3 separate regions of the Homo sapiens genome follow, and all the other regions are linked to region 1. Evidence: promoter capture Hi-C in human tissues and cell types (Jung and others, 2019). All regions are on one chromosome and are shown on one strand. Each heading gives the region's core, a stretch centred on a gene start or on the middle of the fragment in contact. The rest is flanking DNA. Distances are from core to core; before and after follow the strand shown. Region 1 holds the start of DDX55 (DEAD-box helicase 55). Region 2 holds the start of RILPL2 (Rab interacting lysosomal protein like 2). Region 3 overlaps RILPL2 (Rab interacting lysosomal protein like 2).

Region 1 (4,105 bases), core at 1,089-3,588:
AAGGAACCTTCAGAATTAAGACCCAAAGTTACAGGGAAAACTATTTTTATGCTTAGGCTCAACAAAATATGCACAGCTGAGTAGAAATAGGACTGGACAAGAAGGGCATGATCTAATGCTCATAGACTGAGTGGGGAAGCCCAGCGAGGCCTGTCTGGATTCTTTCCTTCTGGATAGGGGAAAGAACCCTTCCTGGAATGGGGTCTTACAACCTACCAGCAAAACAAAGGAGGTCAGATACATTTTTTTTTTTTTTGGAGACAGTCTCTCTCTGTCACCCAGGGTGGAGTGCGGTGGCGCGATCTTGGCTCACTGCAGCCTCCGCCTCCCGGGTTCAAGCAATTCTCCTGCCTCAGCCTCCCAAGTAGCTGGGAATACAGGCGCACGCTGCCACATCTGGCTAATTTTTTTTTGTATTTTTAGTAGAGACGGGATTTCACCGTCTGGTCTCGAACTCCTGAGCTCAGGCAATCTGCCCGCCTTGGCCTCCAAAAGTGCTAGGATTACAGGTGTGAGCCACCACGTCTGGCCTTTTTTTGTTTGTTTGTTTGTTTGTTTGTTTGTTTTTTGAGACTGAGTCTCACTCTGTCGCCCAGGCTGGAATGCAATGGTGCGATCTAGGATTACTGCAGCCTCCACTTCTCAGGTTCAAGCGATGCTTGTAGCTCAGCCTCCGGAGTAGCTGCAGGCACCTGCCACCACACCTGGCTAATTTTTTGTATTTTTAGTAGACAGGGTTTCACTACGTTGGCCAGGCTGGTCTCAAACTCCTTACCTTAGGTGATCCGCCTGCCTCAGCCTCCCAAAGTGCTGGGATTACAGGCATGAGCCACCGCACCTAGCCCAGATAATTTCTTTTTCTTTTTTTTTTTGAGACTGAGTCTCGCTTTGTCACCCACGCTGGAGTGCAGTGGCGCAACCTCCACCTCCCTGGTTCAAGCGATTCTTCTGCCTCAGGCTCCTGAGTAGCTGGGACTACAGGCATGCGCCACCACGCCTGGCTAATTTCTGTATTTTTAGTAGAGACGGGGTTTCACCATATTGGCCAGGCTGGTCTCGAACTCCTGACCTTGAGATCTGCCCGCTTTGGCCTCCCAAAGTGGTGAGATTACAGGCGTGAGCCACCGTGCCAGGCCAATAATTTCTTTATGGCCAGTTTTTTCACAGAAAGGTGGAGAGAGAGTAATATTTTTAGGTTTTATGGCTGACTGTGGAGAAAAGGGATTCCTGTTTCTATGCTCCGTCATGGGCAAGAGGGATTCTTGAGTTTCTATGGCTAGCCTCAGAGAATCAGAGATCAGAGAGGGAGCAGAAGGTCAGAGAGAAACTTGCTTCTGAGGCTGCCTCTGGGGCCTTCATTTTGGGGTTTCGTTTTCAGAGCCTCAACAGGAGCAAGCCATGCACATAGGTGGAGGAGATAGGCCCTCATAGAGGGCACATAATGAGTGGTCAATAAAAGTTTGCTGAGTGAAGGCCGGGCGCGGTGGCTCACGCCTGTAATCCCAGCACTTTGGGAGGCCGAGGCGGGCGGATCACGAGGTCAGGAAATCGAGACCATCCTGGCTAACACGGTGAAACCCCGTCTCTACTAAAAATACAAAAAATTAGCCGGGCGTGGTGGAGGGCGCCTGCAGTCCCAGGTACTCGGGAGGCTGAGGCAGGAGAAGGGCGTGAACCCGGGAGGCGGAGCTTGCAGTGAACCGTTATAGCGCCCAGCCTCCAGCCTGGGCAACAGAGCGAGACTCCGTCTCAAACAACAACAACAACAACAACAACAACAAAAACAGCTTTCTGAGTGAAGTTGTATGTGGACATGAATGGCCCAGGCAAACAGTGAACAGAGGAATGGGACAGTGTTCTTAGTTAGGACTCTGACCCTAACTTCCGGGAAAGTAAACCAACATTCAGGACGTACCGGCCATCGGACCGCAACATTCAGGACGTACCGGCCATCAGCGGGTGCCTGTTTTGCAGGGCTGCTAACCCGGGTCCCCGACACGTTTCTCTGCCCACGGTAGCCAGCCCCGCTGTCCTTCGGCCTGGACGCGGTCCTGTGCTGCCACCTGCCTCCGAGGGGCAGAGAAAGTGGGAGGGCCGGGCCAGAATCCCTCCCGCCAAAACTCCTGCCCGGTGCGGAGAGGCGCCCGGAGCCCAGGGCGCTGTGCGGAGCGGGTGTAACTCCCCAGGCCTGCCCCGCCGCCTGCCTCCACCGTCCCGCGGACGCCTTTCCTCCCTCCCGCGGCGTGGGAGCCTTCGCCGCGCTCCGGAACTCTGCTGCTCCAGCGAAGTTCCCGGCCGGCCGCTGGAGCTGCGGGAAGCGGAAGTGCTCGTTGGGGGTGCACAAGGCGCGTTCGAGCAGCGGCGACCGACGCGGCGAAGGAGCGCGCCATGGAGCATGTGACAGAGGGCTCCTGGGAGTCGCTGCCTGTGCCGCTGCACCCGCAGGTGCTGGGCGCGCTGCGGGAGCTGGGCTTCCCGTACATGACGCCGGTGCAGGTATCGGTTCCCTGGCGTGGGGGAGTGAGGCTGGGAGAGGGGCAGGCACCCGCTGCATCGGACCCACAGGAGGTGATCGGACAGATCTGAGCCCTGGGGCGCTCATCCCTCCAGCTGGGGCTCTTGCCTTGTCTCCAGCTGCCCAGACTGGCGGAATGCGGAGCTGCCCGGCCAGCGAGCCGGCAGAGGGGCCGCGACCCACCCCGCCCTCGGGTGCTGTGGTCTCAAGCCTGGTTCTCATCCTGGCCCTGCTCGCTGTAGCTGTGAGACCTCGGGCAAATGGCTTAACCTCTCCGTGCTTCATTTTCCTTCTCTGTGAAATGACGAAAAAATAACACCCTCCTTATGGGGTTGCTGTGGGGACTAAATAAACCAGTCGGCACACTATGGGAGCTCAGTAAGGGTTACCGTTGTTATGCATCTCTTCAAGAATATTTCTTGAGGACCTGCTATGTGTCAGGAACTCTTCTAGGCTCTGGGGAGTTTGCAGTATTGGCATCTGCTCATAGCCTTACTTTCTAGTGCAAGAGCTAGAGAAAGGATAATTTCAGCTGCTGGTAAGTGTTATGAAAGAACTAAGACGGTTGTGATAGTGTCGCGCGAGGACTGCAGAGGAGGTGAGATAGGGTGTTAAGGAAGGCCTCTCTGAGGAGGTGCATTGAGCTGAGACCTCAGTGATTGAGAAGGAGCTGGCTCTGAGGTGACTAGGGGGAGATTATTCCACTGGAGAGAAATACCAGTGCACATAAATGCCCTGCGGCAGGCTGCAAATAGTTTGAGCAGCAGAAAGGAGGCCTTTGTGGCTGAACATCAAGAGTAGTGTAAGAGATGGATTGTGCAGGGTCTTGTAGGCGCTTGGATTTCATTCTAAATGTAGTGGGAAGCCATCTTATCTGGGAGGATGTTTAGGAAGGGAAGGGCTGTGATTTCTCTGTAGAGAGTGGCCTTTCCAGGCATAAGAGATGAAGCAGGCAGGTCGCTTAGGAGGCCATTGTCAGGTAAGAGATGATGGTGACTTGGAGTAGGGTGGAACCAGTGGATACTGAGAAGTCACATTTGGGATAGCTTTAAGGTTGCTAAGGGACTGGAAGTGGAGGTTAGGAAAGAAAAGACTACAGGACCTGAGGTTTTTATTCTTTTTTTTTTTTTTTTTGAGATGGAGTCTCGCTCTGTTGCCCAGGCTGGAGTGCAGTGGCGCGATCTCGGCTCACTGCAACCTCCGCCTCCTGGGTTCAAGCAATTCTCTGCCTGAACCTCCCAAGTAGCTGAGATCACAGGTGCCTGCCACCATGCCCGGCTAATTTTTTGTATTTTTAGTAGATACGGGGTTTCACCATCTCGGCCAGGTTGGTCTTGAACTCCTGACCTCCTGATCCACCCGCCTTGGCCTCCCAAAGTGCTGGGATTACAGGCTGAGCTACCGCACCCGGCTGATTTTTATTAGTAGCTGAGTGAATGGTGTTACCATTTCCCAAGAATGACTGGCGTGCGTATCAGGTTTCAGAGGGAAAGTCAAGAGTTCTTTTTTTTGTTTTTTGTTTGTTTGTTTGTTTTTAACTTTTTTGAGACGGAATCTTTCTCTGTTGCCCAGGTTGGAGTGCAATGACAC
Region 2 (4,534 bases), core at 372-2,871, 170 kb before region 1:
CCAGCTGCTCAGGAGGCTGAGGCAGGAGAATCGCTTGAATCCAGGAGGTGGAGGTTGCAGTGAGTCGAGGTCACGCCACTGCACTACAGTCTGAGCAACAGAGCAAGATTCTGACTCAAAAAAAAAAAAAATCTACAGTAGTTTCTCTTTAGTGCCTGGCTTCTTTCTCTCAATGTTACATCTGTGAGATTCATTCACACTGCTGTGTGTATCAGCACCCCGTTCTTTTTCTCTGTTGCATAGTATTCCATATATCACAATTTCAAAACTCAATTGGGTTGCATTTAGAGTGTTTCCAGTTTGGCAGCTGAGACTAAAGCTGCTCTGAATCTTCTTGTCTATGTCTTTTTGTGGTCATATGCACTAATTTCTCTTTAGGTAAAATGTGTTTCTTGTCCAAGTGTGGTGGCTCACATCCACAAGCCCAGCACTTTGGGAGGCCAAGGTGGGAGGATTCCTTGAGCTTAGGAGTTTGAGACCAGCCTGGGTAACGGTGAGACCCCCATCTCTACAAAACATCAAAAAAGTTAGCCAGGCATGGTGGCACATGCCTGTACTCCCAGCTACTTGGAAGGGCAAGGCAGGAGAATTGCTTGAGCCTAGGAGGCCAAGGCTGTAGTGAGCCGTGTTTGCACCACTGCACTCTAGCCTGGGAGATAGAGCAGGACCCTGTGTCAAAAGAAAAAAAAAGTGTTTCTTGCTCTAGGTCAAAGGTTCTCAAACTGTGGACCCTGGGCCAATAGCATCAGCATTAACTGCGAACTCGTTAGAAATACAGATTCTGGCCAGGCAGGGTGGCTCACACCTGTAAACCCAGCACTCTAGGAGGCTGAGGCTGGGGGATCACTTGGAGCCAGGAGTTTGAGACCAGCCTGGGCAACACAGCGAGATCCCATCTCTTAAAAAAAGAAAAAAGAGAAAAGAGAAGAGAAAAGAAAAGGAAGGCGTCTCCCTGCCAGTAGGTGCCCTCCTACGCCCCGCAGGCGCCGTGGGCCCGGAACCCTCGCTCCCACACTCACCTCCCCGCTGGCCGGAGGGCTCTGTCTCCGCAGCCCCTCCACCTCCTTCCTGAGGTGGTCCCTCTCCATCTTCAGCTCCTCCAGCGCCAGGCTGCCCTCATTCACCAGCGCCTCCAGCATCTCCAGGACGCGGACGACTTTGAACTGCAGCTGCGTCACCCGGGGGTCGCTGCCCAGGGCCATAAGCTCGCGGCCCAACAGGTAGGAGATGTCATACACGTCCTCGGCGGTCAGCTGGAAGGGGCTCTTGCCCAGCGCCCCCTCGGGCCCAACCTCGTCCCTCTCCTCGTCCTCCTCTCCCTCCTCCTCTTCCTCTTCTCGCACAGGGGGCTCCTCCATGGCCACCCAGACCCCCGCCGACCTCGGAGCTGCTGTCTTGGAGTCTCCCAAAGGTTAGACTTCCTCCCGGCACCCAAAACTTTCCGCTGGGCAGAGTCCCTACCTGCCCAATCAGCGCGGCCCGGGGGTGGGCCCGGGGGGATGGTGCAAGGGGCCGCGCACGCGACTCTTGGGCCTGCGCCCCGGCGCACCGTCCCCGCTGCCAGCCACGCTGGAGAGTGCGCTCCAGGATGTGGTTTGGGGCGCGAAGGGACAACGGAAAAGGAGGCAGCCGAGAAGAGGAACGGGGAAGTTCAGGGGTGACGGCAATCGCCCCAGCCTGGGAACAGTTGCAGCCCCGGGGAGGAGCCGCCCTGAGCCCCGCCCCTGGCGACCGCTGCCAGGAGGTGCGTTTCCGTGGAGACGGAGTTTCCACCGTGCAATCCAGAGCGGGGTAAAAAGAACGCAACTTTTTCCTTTCCACCCTCGTGCTTTCCAGCCGTAGAATTTGCATCGTAGGTGATGGAAGATCCGGGTGTCTCTTTGAGGGTGTTTTCTGGAGCCTGCGGCCAAACAGAAAGCAGCTGCTGGGGGCAGCGCGACAGAGTCCCCGAGGCTTGAGGATCTGGAAAACTCCCAGGCAAATTGTCACTAGGGCCTGGGGCGTCCGACTTCGCTGTGACTCTCAATAAAATGGAGAATGTCTGCCCTGCTCACTTCGCTGGGTCCTCGGCTCCTCCACGTAACCAGCGCTGTCACCTTGGCAAGTTACTTAACGTCTCCGAGCCTCAGTCTCCTCCTCTGTAAAATGGGGACAATAGCGGGACCCAGGTGGCAGGGTTGCTGCGAGGAACATGAGCTTATGAGATCATGTGTGCGACACCTCAAGCACTTAGGAAGCACTCACATACGTGACTGCAATCCTTCATTCTTTCTTTCTTTCTTTCTTTCTTTTTTTTTTTGAGACGGAGTCTCCCTGTGTCGCCCAGGCTGGAGTGCAGTGGCGCGATCTCGGCTTGCTGCAAGCTCCGCCTCCCAGGTTCACGCCATTCTCCTGCCTCAGCCTCCCGAGTAGCTGGGACTACAGGCACGCGCCACCACGCCCGGCTAATTTTTTTGTATTTTTAGTAGAGACGGGGTTTCACCATGTTCGCCAGGATGGTCTCGATCTCCTGACCTCGTGATCCACCTGCCTCGGCCTCCCAAAGTGCTGGGATTACAGGCGTGAGCCACCGCGCCCGGCCCCTTCATTCTTTCTTCCACAGCGCTAGGGAGGAATTGCTGGTGTTGGAGACACCTTGCTACTTGGGTGAGAGAAGGAGGAGTAATTAACAAGAGAGAAACCCCTGTCTGAAAATCACAAAGCATTCGACACATATGCGGAATCCATATTACTGAGAATATTAGCAGAGTGGCGTAGAAACTTGAGTCATTCGCTGTGGCTCATGCCTTAATCTCAACACTTCAGGAGGCTGACGCAGGAGGATTGCTTGAGCCCAGGAATTTGAGACTAGCTTGGGCATCATAGTGAGACCCTGTCTCTACAAAAAGTAAACAAAAGTAGCTGGACACAGTGGTTCATGCCTGTAGTGGCAGGTACTCGGGAGGCTGAGGTGGGAGGACCACTTGAGCCCGGGATGTTGAGGCTGCAGTGAGCCAAGATCTCACCACAGAGTGGTGCCTGTGACAGAGTGGGACCATGGTGACAGAGTAAGATCATGTCTCAAAAAAAAAGGCACAACAAATCTCAAGTTATTTTAGGTTTCACTGGAGGTTTGTGATAGTCTCAGGCAGAAAGCTCAGCAACGGGGCTTGTCTTTCCCAGGAATGTATTGGCAGCTTTCCTTGTGATAGGTGTATCCATTTTCTCCACACTGAGGTACTAGAATCTCAATGGAGAATGTACATAGATTAAACCAACCAACAAAAGCAAAGCAAATTAACAAAACACACTATTTTCAGAGGGTCGTTTCTTTTTATTTTATTTTATTTTATTTTATTTATTTGTTTATTTATTTATTTAGAGACAGAATCTTGCTCTGTTGCCCAGGCTGGAGCTCAGTGGCATGATCTCGGCTCACCGCAACCTCCGCCTCCCTGGTTAAAGCAATTCTTCTACCTCAGCCTCCCCAGTAGCTGGGACCACAGGCGCATGCCGCCCCGCCTGGCTAATTTTTTGTATTTTAGTAGAGATGGGGTTTCACTGTGCTGCCCAGGCTGGTCGCGAACTCCTGAGCTCGGGCAATCCTCCCACCTGGGCCTCCCAAAGTGCTAGGATTACGGGCGTAAGCCACCCTGCCTGGCCTATTTTACTTTTATAAAATAAAAAAGTCAGGCCGAGATGGGCGGATCACGAGGTCAGGAGACCGAGACCATCCTGGCTAACACGGTGAAACCCTGTCTCTACTAAAAATACAAAAAAAATTAGCCGGGTGTAGTGGCGGGCGCCTGTAGTCCCAGCTACTCGGGAGGCTGAGGCAGGAGAATGGCGTGAACCCGGGGACAGAGCTTGCAGTGAGCCGAGATCGCGCCACTGCACTCCAGCCTGGGCAACAGAGCAAGACTCGGTCTCAAAAAAAATAAATAAAAATAAATAAATAAATAAATAATAAATAATAAAAAAATAAAATAAATAAAAAAGCCTCACTCTGTTGCCTAGGTTGGAGTGCAGTGACACGATCTCGGCTCACTGCAACCTCTGCCTTCCAGGTTCAAGCGATTCTCCTGCCTCAGCAGCCCCACCCCGAGTAGCTGGGATTACAGGCACGCGCCACCATGCATGGCTAATTTTTTGTATTTTTAGTAGAGACGGGATTTTACCATGTTGCCCAGGCTGGTCTCCAACTCCTGACCTCAGGATGATCCACCTGCCTCAGCCTCCCAAAGTGCTGGGATTACAGGCATGAGCCACCATGCTTAGCCTTTCTTCTTCTTCTTTTTTTTTTTTTTTGAGATGGAGTTTTGCTCTTGTAGCCCAGGCTGGAGTGCAGTGGCATGATCTCTGCTCATTGCAACCTCTGCCTCCTGGGTTCAAGCGATTCTCCTGCCTCAGCCTTGCAAGTAGCTGGGATTATAGGCGCCCACCACCACACCCAGCTAAGTTTTGTATTTTTAGTAGAGACAGGGTTTCACCCTGTTGGCCAGGATGGTCTCCAACTCCTGACCTCAGGTGATCTGCCCGCCTCTCCCTCCCAAAG
Region 3 (4,464 bases), core at 885-3,384, 190 kb before region 1:
GAATCAGGCCTGCATTTGCCTCCTGGGCAAGCTGCTTCCTAGCTCCACAGCCAGAGTTTCAGTTTCTAAACCTATAAACTGGCCGGGCACGGTGACTCACGCCTGTAATCCCAGCACTTTGGGAGGCCGAGGAGGGCGGATCATGAGGTCAGGAGTTCGAGACCAGCCTGGCCAATATGGTGAAACCCCGTCTCTACAAAAATACAAAAATTAACCCAGTGTGGTGGCATATACCTATAGTCCCAGCTAGTCGGGAGGCTGAGGCAGGAGCATCGCTTGAATCTGGGAGGCAGAGATTGCAGTGAACCCAGATGGTGCCACTGCACTCCAGCCTGGGCGATAGAGCAAGACTCCGTCCCCACCACCCCCCAAAAAAAAGCCGGGTGCGGTGGCTCACGCCTGTAATCCCAGTGTGTCCGGAATTGGTGGGTTCTTGGTCTCACTGACTTCAAGAATGAAGCCGCGGACCCTCGCGGTGAGTGTTACAGTTCTTAAAGGTGGCGTGTCCAGAGTTTGTTCCTTCTGATGTTCAGATGTGTTCGGAGTTTCTTCCTTCTGGTGGGTTCGTGATCTCGCTGGCTCAGGAGTGAAGCTGCAGACCTTCGTGGTGAGTGTTACAGCTCTTAAGGCGGCGCGTCTGGAGTTGCTCGTTCCTCCTGGTGGGCTCCTGGTCTCCCTAGCTTCAGGAGTGAAGCTGCAGACCTTCGGGGTGAGTATTACAGCTCATAAAAGCAGTGTGGACCCAAAGAGTAAGCAGTAGTAAGATTTATTGCAAAGAACAAAAGAACAAAGCTTCCACAATGCGGAAAGGAACCCGAGCGGGTTGCCACTGCTGCCTGGGGCAGCCTGCTTTTATTCTCTTATCTGGCCCCACCCACATCCTGCTGATTGGTAGAGCCAAGTGGTCTGTTTTGACAGGGCGCTGATTGGTGCGTTTACAATCCCTGATCTAGACACAAAGGTTCTCCACGTCCCCACCAGATTAGCTAGATACAGAGTGTGGACACAAAGGTTCTCCAAGGCCCCACCAGAGTAGCTAGATACAGAATGTCGATTGGTGCATTCACAAACCCTGAGCTAGACACAGGGTGCTGATTGGTGTGTTCACAAACCTTGAGCTAGATACAGAGTGCCGATTGGTGTATTTACAATCCCTGAGCTAGACACAAAGGTTCTCCACGTCCCCAGCAGACTCAGGAGCCCAGCTGGCTTCACCCAGTGGATCCCGCACCGGGGCTGCAGATGGAGCTGCCTGCCAGTCCCGTGCCCTGTGCCTGCACTCCTCAACCCTTGGGTCGTTGATGGGACTGGACACCATGGAGCAGGGGGTGGGGCTCGTGGAGGAGGCTTGGGCCGCACAGGAGCCCACGGAGGGGGTGGGAGGCTCAGGCATGGCGGGCTGCAGGTCCCGAGCCCTGCCCCACGGGAAGGCAGCTAAGGCCCGGCGAGAAATCGAGCGCAGCGCCGGTGGGCTGGCACTGCTGGGGGACCCAGCACACCCTCAGCAGCCGCTGGCCCGGGTGCTAAGCCCCTCATTGCCCGGAGCCGGCAGGGCCCGCCAGCTGCTCCGAGTGCGGGGCCCACCAAGCCCACGCCCACCCGGAACTCCAGCTGGCCCGCAAGCGCCCCGCGCAGCCCCGGTTCCCGCTCGCGCCTCTCCCTCCACACCTCCCTGCAAGCTGAGGGAGCGGGCTCCGGCCTTGGCCAGCCCAGAAAGGGGCTCCCACAGTGCAGCGGTGGGCTGAAGGGCTCCTCAAGTGCCGCCAAAGTGGGAGCCCAGGCAGAGGAGGCGCCGAGAGCGAGCGAGGGCTGTGAGGACTGCCAGCACGCTGTCACCTCTCACCAGCACTTTGGGAGGCTGAGGCGGGTGGATCACGAGGTCAGGAGATCGAGACCATCCTGGCTAACACGGCGAAACCCTGTCTCTACTAAAAATACAAAAAAATTAGACGAGTGTGGTGGCAAGTGCCTGTAGTCCCAGCTACTCAGGAGGCTGAGGCAAGAGAATGGCGTGAACGTAGGCAGCAGAGCTTGTAGTGAGCCGAGATCGTGCCACTGCACTCCAGACTGTGCGACAGAGCGAGAGACTCCGTCTCAAAAAAAAAAAAAAAAAAAATCTATAAACTGGTGCACCGGTACCGGTCCCCATCTCCCCAGGTTATGAGGAACAAATGAGATAATCCACAGAGCAGGCGAAACACATTGAGTAAGCCACTGTTATTTACTAAGAAGACAGGCTCACGGAATGGTTGCGGCAGCCTCATTAGTTCCTTTGCGAAGTGCAGACACCCGCTCTCTGTTTCATTGATTCCTAAATGCATTTTGTTCACATCTTAACACCTCTGAAATCAGGATGAGTCCTAAAATCGATAGCTTCTTAACATTTTAGTTTGCAGCAATCTTTCCCTTCATAGTGACACCAGATAATCGTGCATCGCTTAGACTGAATGAATGCAATTGATTCATTATACAATGAAATGTAGATATATGACATATACACACATATACCATGTGTACCATCGTAACTAAGAGACCACTCTAGATAAGCTATAGAAAGTATAAAAATCATTTTACTTTAATACAAAATCACATAAAGAAAGGCATGTTGGCTAAATCAAATATTCACTAAATATCAGTGAAGTCACCACTGGAATCTCAATAGCACATTTTCCTGCTTTCTTTTCTCCCTTCTGCTAACCATTGAAGACCAGGGTCATCCGTGGGAGCAGATGAGTAGGACACGCGTCTGCACGCTGGAGGCCCTGGGGGTTGACATGGGAGCAGGAAGTGGACCCCCCCACCCTGCACATCCCTTCTGTTTTTCTTGATTTCAGTCTCACTGGCCCAGGCCAAATCTTCAAGGGTGTCTAGTTCTGCAGCCAGGGAGAAAGTGATGCCAAGAGAACCTCGTCTCCTCCCTCCTCAGTCTGCTTTGAAGGGGAAATAAATACACAGGCCTAGTGTGTCTGTGTGGCACAGGGAGGTGGTTTTGCCAGGCATCTTGGAAGGTTGTCTTCTAGAATCAGAGCCATAGCCTTACTTGTGGCCTTGGATCTAGGTCTGTTTCCCCGATCGAAAAAAGAACCTGGTGTGGAGAGAGAGAGGGTTCAGGGTAAGCAGAAGGAACAAAGCAAGGGGCACAGCAACCCCCGTAAAATTTCTAAGTAGCTCTTGCAGCTGTTGACTCAAAAATATGTCCAGGCCAGGCATTGTGGCTCACGCCTGTAATCCTATGATTTTGGGAAGCTGAGGCAAGAGGATGAGGATCACTTGATCCCAGGAGTCTCAGACATGCCTGGGCAGCATAGTGAGACCCCATCTCTAAAAAAAAAAAAAAATTAACCAGGCGTGGTGGCATACACCTGTAATCCCAGCTACTCAGGAAGCTGAGGCAGGAGAATCGCTTGAACCCGGGACGCAGAGGTTGCAGTGAGCCGAGATTGCGCCACTGCACTCCAGCCTGGGCGACAGAGCAAGACACTATCTCAAAAGAAAAAGAAAAAGCAAAAAAACCCCAAAAAACCCGGGTGCGGTGGCTCATGCCTGTAATCCCAGCACTTTGGGAGACGGAGGCAGGCAGATCATGAGGTCAGGAGATCGAGACCATCCTGGCTCACACGGTGAAACCCCGTCTCTACTAAAAATACAAAAAATTAGCCGGGTGTGGTGGCGGGCGCCTGTAGTCCCAGCTGCCTCGGGAGGCTGAGGCAGGAGAATGGCATAAACCCGGGAGGCGGAGCTTGCAGTGAGCCAAGATGGTGCCACTGCACTCCAGCCTGGGTGACAGATTGAGACTCCGTCTCAAAAACAAAAACAAAAAAACACATTCATTCGTTCATTCATTCACTCATTGATTCTAGTAGCTCATTAAGTTTATCTGACCCTGAAAGGGTGGCCTCACGCTCATTAGCCACTAGCCACATGTCCTCAGGCTAGCTCATGCACAGAACACACATTTCACTTTTGCTCTATTAGGCTCAAACTCCAATTAGGTGTCCTAAGCTCCCGTAGAAGGACGCTGAAAGAAACCAGTAGTTTATGCCTTCTGGAAGCCTGATTTGCAACAAGACAGCCAATGAAAGTCCTAAATGAACACCTTCACTTCGGACACCTGGGTGGAGGTGCTCTTTCATTATCTTACCTCAGAAGACCCTTCCTTGTGGAAGAAACACTTCCATTAGGCTGGGTGCAGTGGCTTACACCCGTAATCCTAGCACATTGGGAGGCTGAGGCGGGCGGATTGCTTGAGCTCAGGAGTTCCAGACCAGCCTGAGAAACGTGGAGAAACCCCATCTTTACCAAAAATACAAAAATTAGCTGGGCATGATGGTGAACACCTGTGGTCCCAGCTACTCGGGAGGCTGAGGTGGGAGGATCGCTTGAAACTGGGAGGCGGAGGTTGCAGTGAGCTGAGATCAAGCTACCGCACACCAGCCTGGGTGACAGAGTGAGACCCCATCTCAA

What was found. Contacts are between HindIII fragments. The study calls those that stand out against the background at their distance.
Region 2: a contact is called between the fragment with the promoter of RILPL2 here and the fragment with the promoter of DDX55 in region 1, in 1 of the 25 tissues and cell types used here (adrenal gland).
Region 3: a contact is called between a fragment that was not itself captured here and the fragment with the promoter of DDX55 in region 1, in 3 of the 25 tissues and cell types used here (aorta, heart right ventricle and pancreas).

What each region holds. Positions count from the first base shown.
Region 1 is chr12:123,599,761-123,603,865 of GRCh38, forward strand. It overlaps DDX55 (DEAD-box helicase 55), which reads left to right and starts at 2,339. Exons shown (of 14, transcript NM_020936.3): 1 at 2,339-2,496. The coding sequence starts at 2,389. RefSeq lists a silencer at 2,701-2,810 and an enhancer at 3,051-3,100. The HindIII fragment of the contact is 15,410 bases long and covers 1-4,105 here.
Region 2 is chr12:123,435,063-123,439,596 of GRCh38, forward strand. RILPL2 (Rab interacting lysosomal protein like 2) reads right to left here and starts at 1,622. Exons shown (of 4, transcript NM_145058.3): 1 at 1,020-1,622. The coding sequence starts at 1,358. RefSeq lists an enhancer at 598-1,527 and a silencer at 1,369-1,628. The HindIII fragment of the contact is 18,752 bases long and covers 1-4,534 here.
Region 3 is chr12:123,412,837-123,417,300 of GRCh38, forward strand. It overlaps RILPL2 (Rab interacting lysosomal protein like 2), which reads right to left. Exons shown (of 4, transcript NM_145058.3): 4 at 2,203-3,085. The coding sequence ends at 3,055. Among named protein-coding and RNA genes, the nearest start is that of RILPL2, 22 kb to the right of the region's middle. The HindIII fragment of the contact is 7,685 bases long and covers 1-4,464 here.